Linked DNA regions of Homo sapiens: regions 2, 3 and 4 are each linked to region 1. The links are contacts of gene promoters, found by promoter capture Hi-C in blood cells and fetal thymus (Javierre and others, 2016). All regions are on one chromosome and are shown on one strand. Each heading gives the region's core, a stretch centred on a gene start or on the middle of the fragment in contact. The rest is flanking DNA. Distances are from core to core; before and after follow the strand shown. Region 1 holds the start of CSTF2T (cleavage stimulation factor subunit 2 tau variant). Region 2 holds the start of LOC105378306 (a long non-coding RNA gene). Region 3 has its middle 9.6 kb from the start of SGMS1-AS1. Region 4 overlaps SGMS1 (sphingomyelin synthase 1).

Region 1 (3,384 bases), core at 57-2,556:
AAAATGATTTTTATTTAGAACACAATTTATTATTGCAAAAGTAGATTCTATATCCAAGTTGTTCTAAATACTAAAAAAGTTTTCCAATAGCTTACTGAACATTAGTTTTTATATTTAAATAAAAAATGAGATTTAAAATTCATTTCTTCAATCACACTAGCTTCATTTCATATATTCAATACACGTAAGGCAGTGTAGAATTGGAGCTATGCGAGACCAAGCTGGGTTAGAATCCTGACTTGGCCTCTTTCCAGCTGCTTGTCCTTGGGAATTTACCTAGCCCTCTCCAAGCTTCAGTTCTAGCTTCGAATTGCAGGCGGGGAAACACCACACTGAATATGTTTTAACTCCTACCTGCAAAGCTAACAGCAGAAGACAAACACCCGCTATTTGTTTCTCCCTTCATGGAAGTGGTGGACTCACTGCATGATATAATAAAAATCAGAACCAATCAACGTAGGGATAGTTAAGTAAATTTCTTTATTCCATACTCTGAAGCCATAAAATACTAATAACTAATTAATCACTAATTTATTTAATCACCAATTAATATTGAAATCGGTTGTTATTAAGGAAGAAAACCGTAATATTAGGAATAGCACGACGGCTGCCCGTGTGCTCAGGAAAAACCTAGAAGGGTCTGCCACCCATCCATTAACAGCGGTTATAGGAAGCAACAGAATGGGGGCAGGGCCCAGCCGGCACACGCTTCAGTTTATATTTCTTGTCAGTTAATTTCCAAAAACGTTGTTCTAAAAAGGAGATATAATACTGTTTTAGTTTAAGGGGCAAATCTCAAATGTGCTGAAACGACTACGCTTTTCCCTCAGTCTGGAATGTGATTTTAAATCTAGCTTAACTATACTATAATAAAAGGCCACATGAAAATACTTTGTCAGAACGAAAAACACGCCGCCTTAAATCCGCTTTCGGTTGGCGGTTTCCCGCCAGCGGAACGGAAGCAAAACCGCCTTTGACGTCAAGGGAAGAGTCCCCTCCCAGTTACTACGGTGAAGTCTATGCGGCCATCTTTACTGTGGTCATCTCGTACCAAGCGTGTCGTAGTGGGGCTGTTGGGGCCCCACAGAAAGTCAGCGGAACGTGAAATGGGAAAGGAATCATGCGACTCTGTAATAAGAAGCTGACAGAACCATGAAGGATCAGGGACTGAAAGCATTAGATAAGTTGTTAGTGGGATGCAGGTTCCACAGGCAAGCGGAACGATTCAAGCGAATTAGTAAAGTTTCTGCCCGGATCTTGAAAGCCGCTTCCGTTGCTCAGCGGAAGTGTCGGTCGCAAGAGGACAGACGCCTCGAAGAATCCGCTATCGGCTGTCTGCACAACCGGAATCATGTCGAGTTTGGCGGTGAGAGACCCGGCAATGGATCGATCACTGCGTTCCGTGTTCGTGGGGAACATTCCATATGAGGCAACTGAGGAGCAGTTAAAGGACATTTTCTCGGAGGTTGGTTCTGTTGTCAGTTTCCGGCTGGTATACGATAGAGAGACGGGAAAACCCAAGGGCTATGGCTTCTGCGAATACCAAGACCAGGAGACCGCGCTTAGTGCCATGCGGAACCTCAATGGGCGGGAGTTCAGTGGGAGAGCGCTTCGGGTGGACAATGCTGCCAGTGAAAAGAATAAGGAGGAGTTAAAGAGCCTTGGGCCTGCAGCGCCCATTATTGACTCACCCTATGGGGATCCCATCGATCCAGAAGATGCCCCTGAATCGATTACCAGAGCAGTAGCCAGTCTCCCCCCGGAGCAGATGTTTGAGCTGATGAAGCAGATGAAGCTCTGTGTCCAAAACAGCCACCAGGAAGCTCGAAACATGTTACTTCAAAATCCACAACTGGCTTATGCACTGTTGCAGGCACAAGTAGTGATGAGAATCATGGATCCAGAGATTGCTCTGAAAATTCTGCATCGGAAGATACATGTCACACCACTGATCCCAGGCAAATCTCAGTCTGTGTCTGTCTCTGGCCCTGGCCCTGGCCCTGGCCCTGGGCTCTGCCCAGGACCTAATGTTCTGCTGAACCAGCAGAATCCTCCAGCTCCTCAGCCTCAGCATTTGGCTAGAAGACCTGTGAAGGACATTCCTCCTCTGATGCAGACTCCTATCCAGGGTGGAATTCCAGCTCCAGGGCCAATACCAGCTGCAGTTCCCGGAGCTGGTCCTGGTTCCTTAACTCCTGGAGGAGCAATGCAGCCCCAACTTGGAATGCCAGGGGTTGGCCCAGTGCCTTTAGAGCGGGGACAAGTGCAGATGTCAGATCCTAGAGCTCCTATACCTCGCGGACCCGTGACTCCTGGTGGTCTGCCTCCTCGAGGACTGTTAGGAGATGCTCCAAATGACCCACGTGGAGGGACTTTGCTTTCAGTCACTGGAGAAGTGGAGCCCAGAGGTTATCTGGGTCCACCCCATCAGGGTCCCCCCATGCATCATGCCTCTGGTCATGACACTCGTGGCCCTTCCTCACATGAGATGAGGGGAGGGCCATTAGGAGATCCCAGACTGCTAATTGGAGAGCCCAGAGGCCCCATGATAGATCAAAGGGGTCTACCTATGGATGGTAGAGGTGGTAGAGATTCTCGAGCGATGGAGACTCGTGCCATGGAAACTGAGGTCTTAGAGACACGTGTAATGGAGAGGAGAGGAATGGAGACCTGTGCGATGGAAACCAGAGGGATGGAAGCAAGGGGCATGGATGCAAGAGGATTGGAGATGAGGGGCCCTGTCCCCAGTTCAAGAGGCCCTATGACTGGTGGAATTCAGGGTCCTGGTCCCATTAATATAGGGGCAGGTGGCCCTCCTCAGGGACCCAGACAGGTCCCAGGCATTTCAGGGGTGGGGAATCCTGGAGCTGGTATGCAGGGTACAGGCATACAAGGAACAGGCATGCAGGGAGCAGGCATACAAGGAGGAGGGATGCAGGGGGCAGGCATACAAGGAGTCAGTATACAAGGAGGAGGTATACAAGGAGGAGGTATACAGGGGGCAAGCAAGCAAGGTGGAAGCCAGCCTAGCAGTTTTAGTCCTGGGCAGAGCCAGGTCACTCCACAGGATCAGGAGAAGGCAGCTTTGATCATGCAGGTTCTTCAACTGACTGCAGATCAGATTGCCATGCTGCCCCCTGAGCAAAGGCAGAGTATCCTGATTTTAAAGGAACAAATCCAGAAATCCACTGGAGCGTCTTGAAAGGTTTTAGAAAATATTTGGCTGTAGTCTCAAATTTTATTCTGTAGCATGGAGAATGGGTGCAAAAAGCTGACTTCTGTATCCCCACACTTGGATTAGGGTTTCCCTCCTCCTAGAACCTAATCTTATTTTTTGTTCTTTTTCTTTCTTTCTGTTTTCCTTTTTTTTTTAATTGAGGGTGG
Region 2 (3,517 bases), core at 26-2,525, 1.1 Mb before region 1:
GAACTGCTTGAACCCGGGAGGCAGAGGTTGCAGTGAGCCATGATTGTGCCACTGCACTCCAGCCTGGGCAATAGAGTAAGACTCCGTCTCATATAAATAAATAAGTAAATAAATTATAGCCATGGGTATGACTATAGGCTGAGTCCCAGGAGTCCTCCTAGTGAATCGTGGAACCTGGGAAGGGCCTTGTCACCTCAACACAGATGACATACTGTATACCAACTCAAGGCGTTGTGTGAATTAAGTGAGGTATTACCTATAAAGCAACTAGCACACAGAAGCACATATCAGTTAGTCAACAAATGCCTGTTCCTTCTCCCTCCCTTTGTCCTTCTACATCTTTCTAATTTTTCTCTCATAGCTCATTGCTTTTATTGATTAACAAATGTTTGCTGTGGTCCCATGTTTCAGGCAGTGTGAAAGATACAGGATAGGATGACCACAGTGAGCCCGACCCTCTCTCCTCATCTCACAGTCCAATGTCTGAAGTTGTCTGTCTCCATTTCTGTGTTTATATCTGGGCTGGCTTGAGACATCAGGGATGGGCAAGTTTCTGCATCTCTTCAGGATGTGCCTGTGGGCCCTCAATCCTCCCAGGACAAATCTTTGGCCAGGTCCATGTTTCCTAGGGCAGTTCCTGAGGAGGAAGTGTCCAGGCAGGCCCAGCTCCCTGTGTATCTGCAAGAGCCTCTTTTATCCTTTACAAGATGCAAGACCTGCTACCTGTGTTTCCAGCCTGGCATGAAGAATCTGGCTAAAATCCTAACCCCACAGCCCAGAGCAACAACCTCGAGGAGGAGTAGCCTCAAATGAAGCACCAGCCAGCAGACCCCAGAGCCACCTGACCTGGAGCAGATCCAGTGACTGGTTGTTCAGGGCTTACAACATAGACTCCTGCCTATCCAGAGGGTAGAGACCACAAAGTCAAATGGAGCCCAGAGTTCATCCACGTAGCATGAGCCATGACCAAGGGCTTGGTGTCCTGATTCCCGAGGTCTAAGTTCAGAGACCAGAGCAGAGACCAGGAGCTCTGATCTCCTAACCTTCAGCCATGATCTCAAACAACCAAGCCCAGAGATAGATGGACTGAGGCTAGACAGTCAGGACAGGGACCAGACCCCAAATTTAGAACTCAAGTTTCAAAGAAAAAAATTAGATCAAGGCCCTGGGGTCAGCCCAGAGAGCAGCTCCCAGAACGAGGAGACCAGAATCCAGGCCCAGAATCTGCAGCCCAGAGCTCACATCTTGGAAAGGGAGGAGAGGAGAGACAGCACTACTATTTGCGAGATGCCTGGCACCCTGGGAAGTTCCAGAGACCCGAGTCTGGATTTAGTCTTTCAAATGCCAAGATCTTTACTACACCTAACATTTGCAATGCTTTTCTTTCTCCTTGAAATGTACTCTGATCTCTCAGGGTATCCCTTGGCCCCCTGCAGTCCTAAGCATGGCCACAAGATGGCAGGGCTGACCCATACTTTCCCTGTGGGACACAGCAAAGTTTGTTCTTCCCTCAAGTGCCCTGGGCCTTCAGGGCCAGGATACCCCCATCCCTCACCATGGCCCCTGGAGGCCATACAGAGCCGCCTGAGAAGACAATCCTCCCTCTCCACCATTCTATCGCTCTTTAAACAGGGGAGTCAACTTGGGGCCAAGTATTCCTGGGTGAGTCTGACCTCGTTATTCTAGGTCTGCGTGTGTCTGTCCGCACCTATCTCAGAAAGCAATCCTTCTTGGTCCTCTTTCAGCGCCAAGAATTTTTTTTCTTGTTTTCTCAGTGGGTAGAGCTTCCCGATTAGCACTCTTACATATTTACCATTACTAAATGCTCTCCTTCCGCCCATTTACAGCTGAATAACTGAGGCTCAACAAGATGAGGGCGCTTGTCTAAGTCACAACCCTCAGGTCAGGATGGAGTGGAATGAAAATGAGATATGTGTACATCTGTCCGTGACACCTTCCTGACCCCCTCACTTGGGGGGTCTGGTGACTGGGTACCCAACTGTATGCAGAGGGGAGAGGCAGCTGGTCTGTAGCCCAGCCAGCCCTGTGGAACCAGCCTTTCCTTGGCCCTTCTGGAAGAGAAGGTCTCCCTTAACCCTCCCCGACCGTCCCCCACCTCCAATTCAATAGGCAGTTCACTCTCAATCAATTCAACGCACTCTCCTCCAGGGTCTCTACTTTTCTGTCCAGGACAGACTCACCTGTATCTCCATCTTCCTATTCTAGAGAGGTGTTTGTGGGGATTGATTGGGTTCCTCTGAGGTAAGTGGGTCTCTTAAAGCTGCGCTGGGCTGGGGGCCGATGTGGATGTGTTGTGCTTGAGGAGGGAGGGAAGGAGGGGAAGAGGGAGGGAAGGAGGGGAAGAGGGAGGGAAGGAGGGGAAGAGGGAGGGAAGGAGGGGAAGAGGGAGGGAAGGTGGGGAGGAGGGAAGCAGGGAGGGGAAGAGGGAGACAGAGATGGGAGGAGGGAGGCAGGGAGGGGAGGAGGGAGAAGCAAGGAAGAAAGGAAGGAGGGAAAGAGGAAAGGAGGAAGGGAAGAAAGAGGGAGCCCAGCCTCCAGCCTCTGGGCCCAAAGCCGGCAAGGCCCACCCCTCTGCCTTCCTTTGCTGCTCAGCTTTGCCGCGAGGCCGGGCTGGAGGGACCCTTGATGTCACAGCTGCAGACAAAGGGAGCACACAGGGCCTGTGGACTTACCGTGTGCACGACGATGCGGACACACCTACTGTGCCAGGCATCAAAGGACTCTCAGCTCCCAATTTACCCTTCAAAACATGCTCTGTGATTAAACCACAGAATTCCTTTCAGCGTTTTTCGAGTGAGCACGATGCAAAGCTTCTCAGTAGAGGGCGCTAGAGAGACATGGCAAGAAGAAGGGGGCTCCTGCAGTTTCGGGAGGCCCCCTCGGGAGTCGGCCTGGCGGGTGGGAACATCTGGGGGCACCGCGGTTGGAATGCGCAGTCTGGCCGCGAATCCGGGGGCTTGCAGTTGCGCCCTGGCCTCGCCACCAACCCCCTGCAGCCCTCGCGACAGGGACACCGAGGCACGAAGCCTCCTGCCTGCACCTCTGTTGTGCTGCCTCTGCTCGTCCCTCCCTCTTCCCCCAGGTGTGTCTCCCGCAATCTTAGGGAAGCGGTGCCCCTCCCAACAGGGACACCGCGCTCCGGGCCGCCTGTTGCACCTACGACCCACTCCCGCGGCGCGACCACTGCGGCCAGGACCTGCGGCTTGCCTGGCCCACCTGTGCTCCGGAGGGGGGCTGATGCCTGCTTGTCCCAGAACTGCAGAGAAGCTCTGGCCCAAAAAATTAGCACAGCCACCCAGTGGGTTCAACTACCCTTTCTCCAGTGAGGTCTGAACCATACAGAATGTCTTACATTCTATACTTTTTAATCAGGGTTTAATAATTCTTTATATTAAACTACCCCTGTTTAGATCACTGTGTGATGTCTGTTTCCTGATTGGCTCCAGAGTGCTAAACCTTTTCATCCTCGCAAAGCTACAGGTGAGCTCATTTAATC
Region 3 (3,236 bases), core at 293-2,792, 1.1 Mb after region 1:
GAACACAGGCCAAAACATCTGTTGGAATGGGGACAGGTTTGAGGGAGAAGAAAAAGAAGGAAAATGAGATATATAGTGATGGAAAAAGTAGATTATTCCAACATGTTGTCTTGGAATGACAGCTAACATTATTACATGCTCACACAGTATGCCAAGGGCTCTGGTAAGTGTTTTATGTGGATTATTATGGAGAAATGCTCACAACCTGAAAATAAGTTGGTATTGTTACTCACATTTTACAGGCAAGGAAACTGAGGCTCCAGGAAGTTTATTCATTTGACCAATGTTACACAGTTAATAAGTAGCAGGGCTCAGATTTGTGCCCAGTTTCTGATTCCAAAGCCCATGCTTTTAACTACTGCAGGAAAAGATAGTGATGTTTAAGATCTTGCAGGATAGGAAAGGGTATGAACCCATTTTAGGACTATTTTTCTAACCATGGGGATTGAAATAAAAAAGAATACAGGGCTTAAGCAGTGGCCTCAGTCAATAGAAACATTCAGTTAACCAGGATTCCATGAGGCTTTTCTGACCTGGCCACTTTGCGCTCCAGCTGTGGTGGTTTCTCCTCCTAGTTCCCAGCTGTGTTCCTGTCTCTGGTTCCCTGAGTGTTGCTCTCACTGTTTTTCTTGGCACCTTTATCCTGGTGGTTCTACCTCTTCATCTTTCTCTTTCTTGCCCCTGGCTCCACTCCATGACTTCTGGTTCATGATGAAGGAATTTATGCTTCAATCTTGCAGTTTTCTTTGAGAGCTAACCCAGTGGCCTTTAGCTATGGCTCATGCCAATGGCCCTTATGGGTTCTTTCATTTTTGCCTACTAGGTTTCCCTATGAAGTTCTCCAATGCTCTTTCCCAGCTCCCAGATGCCCACCATGACCAGCCCTCCAAGGTCACTTGGTTTGGTGAGCATTTAAGCCCTTAGGTCTCAGCAGTACCCTGGGAGAGGACCTGTTGCAGCAGGTAATGCCAGTGTCCATATATCCCAAGGCATCTGTAGTAAGAAACCATGTAGAGAACTGTTCCATTTAATGCATACAGTCAGGGCAGGCAGCCCCTTAACAGCGAGAGCTTTTAGCTCACAGAGAAGCCTTTAGCAACCATCCTGAAGTGAACAAGGGGCTTAAAATGATTGACTTGTCAGACAAGCATGTTTTTTAAACAACAAAAACTGTCGCATTAACCTTGTTGTAGCCCCAGGAGTTATCGAGCCATATATAACTACTACCACACTCTTTTAAAAAAACTACCAGGTTCAATGCCATTAAAACAGCTTGGCCAAAACCACAGATGGGTTGCCAAGGTACAAGTGAAAACAGGAAAATAATGGGACAGGTGGGAGTGGGGACATACACACACAACAGTGAGGCAATTCAAAGAGAAAATAATTTAAGTAGTTATTATAGAAACACATTGAAATTTGTGAATTTGTCCTTCTAAATTTCTCTCTCCTCTGCCTCACTTCAATGGTACGAAGTCCCTTCAGGTTCTGATGTGATTATTGATTATTGATCTTCCTGCCTTTACTACATGGTCTTTCTTTATAATTCCCCAAATCCTGTGAAGAGTTAATATCATCCCCAGTGTAGACACAAGAAAATGAGGCCCCAAGAGGTTATCAAATATTAGGGCAGGGTCTGGTGGACAATAAGTGACTTTTCTATTATATGACACTGGCTATAGTAGGTCCTAAGGAGTAGATTTAGGGATTTGAGGACGAGCCCATATACCTAGTTTAATGGCCGGCCTTTTGGTAGTCTTCAAATTAAAACACGTAATGTCTGTCCATTCTGCCTTTATGAAAGTTGATTAGGGCCAGAGTAGAAAGCACTATAGTTGCAAAATAAGGAACTCTTTCTTTGGCATTTGATAAAATTTCTGTAGAGCCGTTATTCTGGTTGAGGAGTTTTTAAAAAATGTTTACGCCTGGGCTGCACCCCATAGTAATTATATCAGACTCCCTTGGAATGGACCCCATGCATCAGTATTTTAAAAACTCCCCAGGTGTTTTACCCTGTAGCCAGGGTCAAGAACCAGGGCTCTAAAGCAGTTGTTCTCAAACTCGAACATGCGGAAGAATCACCTGGAAGGCCTGTGAAAACACTGGTTGCTAGGACCCACTCTCAGAGTTTCTGATTCAGTAGGTCCGGGGTGGGTCCCAAGGATGTGCATTTCTAGCAAGTTCCCAGGTCACATGATATTCCTCTTCTGAGGACCACACCTGGAGAACTAGGAAGGTAAGCTGAGTGAAAGTAAAGTCAGTCTATGCTTCTGCTCCCTTTCTTCCTGTTTATGAGGTTATAAGAAGTTTGTGTCTGATTCTCCTCTATGTCCTTCCACAATGCTAACTCACCCAACAAGAATACTAGAAGAACATCATTTGCTGTGTAAATGATAAATAGTCTGTGAGCATCAGAAGTGTTTTTAAATAAATCAGGCAATGAATCCCATCAGGCTTTGAATGAGTTCTAAGGAGTTTGCCACTATTTTCAGTAGGAAAATAGACATCCTTCAAAGAAAATGTATCCTCAAATTCAGTTGTGCTACTCATTCTAACAGCATTTTTAAAGCCTTTGCAGTTATTCCTCTTTATTATTTTTAATGAAGTCAAGTCATAAAGTTTGTGGAACAGGGAAAAAACCTTGAGTCTGTTAGGATAGGGTAATCAGATTTAGAAAAAGAAACAAACAAACAAACATACACATGCACACACATAGGACATCCAGTTAAATTTCAATTTCAGATAAATAATGAATAATTTTTTAGGATAAGTATGTCCCATGCAATGTTTGACAACCCTGATCAGGGCTAAATATTGGGATGGGAATAACATAAATGCCTACTGTGGAGAACTGGGACATACCATATCCATTTCTGTTTTATGGATACACAGAATTACTTACTTGATCTTGTACCTTGTCCATTGCGAACTCAAAAAACATTGGCTGAATTGTTAGAATATGAATACCTAAGATATAAATGCAATATATGAAAGTGCTGAGTGATTTCAAAGAAGGATGCTTGATCAACTTAAGATTGCAGTGCCTTTTGATTTAGTTGCCCCACTTTGATCATTGCCTAAACCAGTGATTCTCAACTGAGGATGATTCTCCATAACAGGGGACATTTGGCAATGTCTGGAGATATCTTTGGCTGTCACAAGTGGGTGGGGGAGGTGCTACTGGCATCCATTTGGTTGAGGCCAGGAATGCTGCTAAACACCTGATGATGTACAGG
Region 4 (3,121 bases), core at 138-2,637, 1.1 Mb after region 1:
CAGGTGGGATGATTTCAGATTTAGACATTGGAAGTGCCTTCCGCCTCATGAAATAAAAACTGAACTCATGTGGTCCTGTTTATCTAGGACAGCAGAGGGGTGTCTGAGCCAGTCCAGAGCAGAAACTTGCTTTTCCTGCTCACCAGTGGTTCTGGCATGGCTCAGGAGAGATGATCCCAAGGTGGAGAGAAAACTTGGAAATATAAGTCAGCACTCATTAGAAGCTTGGAGTGCCATCATTACATCCCATCTTAGGAAGATGGCCTCATTTATTTTTGTTATTTTTCATTCCCCCTTCCATTGGCAAAAAAAAAAAAAGAAAGACTTCCTGTTCACCACTTATCCCCATGGAGGAATTTAGGCACAGACAAATTAAAAGTATATTGAGATACATAACCTGACAGTGGAGAGGCAGAAGATAATCTTATTTGCCTAGTTTAATTATAGCAGAAAACTGTGTTTGTAGGAAAAAAGAGCTTTGTACAGCTTTCCTCCAGCTGCCACGAGGTCACATAGCTACAATGTGTACCAAGCTTAGTACAGCACCTACACACATTAAGCTCTCAAGAAGTATGAATAGTTATTATTATAGCAGAAGTTTTCTGTCTTGCAATCCAGGCTACACTTTTTCCTATTTGAAAGAATGTTACATATATAAAACCTCGGGACGAAAACCTTTTATAATTTAAATATTTTGTAGGAACTCAGGATTTAGAAAGAACTCGGAGGTGAACAATACAAGTAAGTTGTATTTGGGAAGGAACACTGGTTTAGATTTTTCTCTGTGCTAGTTATCAGGACTCTCCTGTGACCCTGTCAGCCTGTAACAGCTCGTTTGCTTGGTGAGGGAATGTGGCAGGGCAGAGAGGATGGGGGGATTGCCAGGGGCCGACTGAAGAGGCTAGAGAGGCCTGTTCAGGTGTGGAGACACTCTCCAGTCTGGTCATTTTATAACTCAGGGTTGACAGTGGCAGTAAATATGTGTTGAAAATCCCCTATGGGCCAGTTTCCCTGGTGAGCTTTGAGATACAGAGATGAGTGCGATGGGGTCTGGGTCTTTGAGGGATTAGTGGGGAGACAGACATGTCCACAGATGATGTCATCACCAAGTAGTGAGTACAGTATCAAAGCTGCACACCTAGCCTCCCTGGGTCAGGGGTGGGATGACTGGACAGAGGTCACCTGCCCAGTTTCCCTGTGTCAGCAGAGTGCACAGAAGGGAATCCATACCATAGGTCAGTGTAGATGGAGCCAGAAGTGGCATTTTTTTGGTTTTTATTTTCTTTTGTTTTAGGGTTGAAAGCCACATGAGGTTTTCATTTTTAGTGACATAATCCTGACAGCAGAGACAAGCCTAGGAAGATGTGTGCTATAAGTGGTCAGCCCCCAAAGGGAGAATCAGAGCTGGGACTGCACTTCAAAACTACTTGGGGAGTTACAAGAGTACTTAAGAGTTTACTTTCTTTGTTTTTAAAAAACGTGGCTATGAGGTCAGGAATTCGAGATCAGCCTGGCCAGCATGGTGAAACCCCATCTCTACTAAAAATACAAGAATTAGCCTGGCATGGAGGCGCACGCCTGTAATCCTAGCTACTCAGGAGCCCGAGGCAGGAGAATTGCTTGAATCCACGAAGCAGAGGCTGCAGTGAGCCGCGATCACGCCACTGCACTCCAGCCTGGGCGACAGAGCGAGGCTCTGTCTCAGAACAACAACAACAACAACAAACAACAAAGTGGCTAAATGTTAGCTGTCTGCTAGGAATGTAAAACCTGGAGAAGATTAACGACTTTCTATCTTTAAGATAAATCAACTTTTAAAAGAAAGACTCTATTAAAAACAAAGTTTTATTTTATTTTCCCTGAATTTTTGGCTAAGTGTGAAATTCCCCTTTCATTTGTGTTTTCAGTGGTTCCAGTTCCTTGTTTTCTTTTTTCTCCCCTCCACTCCTCCTTTTCGCCAGCTGCTTATTATTCATTAACAAAAGAAGCTGATTTCAGCACTACCTTCCCCAGTCCTATTTAATTTCATGTCCAGACCACTTTATAGAAATAGCAATAAGCTGTTTGCATTTCCCAGGTTGTAATGGATATTCCTTCTGGCAGGCTGTCTCCATTAAGGGAGCAAAATGTGGATGTTCAGTCTTCTAAAAGTTTCATGCAGGTATTCTATGTGAATCCATGAAGACGGGATGTTATAACAAATCTCAGGTTAAGGGGTGGAGGATCCTCAGCTAAGCTTGGCAGGTGGAAGATGCTTAAATTTGGAAGGGAGTTCCCAATAGTCACAGATGGAGATGGAGGGATTGAAGAAAAAAGCCCTGGGGCAGGATGGTAGAGAACAAACCTCAAGAAAACTATCTCCTAAGGAAGTGGTGGGGAGGGCTAGCTGAAGTGGTACCCACCCCACTGGCAGGGGGCTGGGTGAAAGCAGCAGAGGCAGGAGAAATCAGGACTGGGAGGGAGATAGGGTGGGAAGGCAGGCTTTGCCCACAGCTTCTTTCCCCCTAACAGACACAGGCTGACAGTTTAGGCAGGAGTTGGAAAAGGGGATGGGGGGTGCCAGTGTGTCTGAGGCCAACAGAGAAGAGGAATGTTTTACTCCTGAGGAAACCAGGAGGGGAGAGGGAAGGGTGGAGGAAAGGCAGGGGGCAGCGGCAGGGATGAAGGTGCACAGGCAGGTGGAGGATGACTGGAGAGCAGAGATGCTTGGGATGCTGGAGAAAAGGCCATGGGACCAGAAGAGGATTGTGAAAGAAACAGTCTGTATAGAGGACCCACGGCCTTCAGCCCAAGTCAGGCTGTCCTGGTCATCTGAGACAGAGGCAGAGTAGGTGAGGGCAGTGAGGAAAGATGCTGCTGGCTGTCCAAGCACACTGGTGAGGTAGTAATGCAATTTCTGAGCCATTTGTAAGATGTCAGGACACCCAGGGTCTTCTAGATAACAGGAACTGGGAAGGCAAGGACCCAGGGGCCCTGATTTTGAAAGCCAGCTGAGGAGTGATGAAGAACAGTGGGCTTGGGTTTAAATCCTTTTGGGGCAGTGGCTTTCTCATGTGAAATGGGGATAATAACCACTCTGTCACAAGTGTCGTGGTGTGAAGACCCTTGGCGTGTGTCCACA

What was found. The method cuts DNA at HindIII sites, captures the fragments that hold promoters and counts their contacts. A CHiCAGO score of 5 or more calls a contact.
Region 2: a contact is called between a fragment that was not itself captured here and the fragment with the promoter of CSTF2T in region 1, in 1 of 17 cell types (fetal thymus). The highest score is 5.8, in fetal thymus.
Region 3: a fragment that was not itself captured here is called in contact with the fragment with the promoter of CSTF2T in region 1 in 6 of 17 cell types (non-activated CD4 T cells, naive CD4 T cells, total CD4 T cells and 3 more); the score reaches 9.5 in non-activated CD4 T cells.
Region 4: a contact is called between a fragment that was not itself captured here and the fragment with the promoter of CSTF2T in region 1, in 5 of 17 cell types (naive CD8 T cells, activated CD4 T cells, non-activated CD4 T cells and 2 more). The highest score is 9.6, in naive CD8 T cells.

What each region holds. Positions count from the first base shown.
Region 1 is chr10:51,697,517-51,700,900 of GRCh38, reverse strand. CSTF2T (cleavage stimulation factor subunit 2 tau variant) reads left to right here and starts at 1,306. Exons shown (of 1, transcript NM_015235.3): 1 at 1,306-3,384. The coding sequence starts at 1,352. The coding sequence ends at 3,202. The region is part of intron 3 of PRKG1 (protein kinase cGMP-dependent 1); the gene reads right to left. RefSeq lists a silencer at 178-472 and enhancers at 226-914, 1,039-1,618. The HindIII fragment of the contact is 5,025 bases long and covers 294-3,384 here.
Region 2 is chr10:52,778,228-52,781,744 of GRCh38, reverse strand. LOC105378306 (a long non-coding RNA gene) reads right to left here and starts at 2,587. Exons shown (of 4, transcript XR_945963.2): 1 at 2,202-2,587. The HindIII fragment of the contact is 3,116 bases long and covers 1-2,833 here.
Region 3 is chr10:50,632,926-50,636,161 of GRCh38, reverse strand. No RefSeq gene overlaps it. Among named protein-coding and RNA genes, the nearest start is that of SGMS1-AS1, 9.6 kb to the right of the region's middle. The HindIII fragment of the contact is 4,046 bases long and covers 1-3,236 here.
Region 4 is chr10:50,611,309-50,614,429 of GRCh38, reverse strand. The region is part of intron 1 of SGMS1 (sphingomyelin synthase 1); the gene reads left to right. Among named protein-coding and RNA genes, the nearest start is that of SGMS1, 11 kb to the left of the region's middle. The HindIII fragment of the contact is 1,703 bases long and covers 536-2,238 here.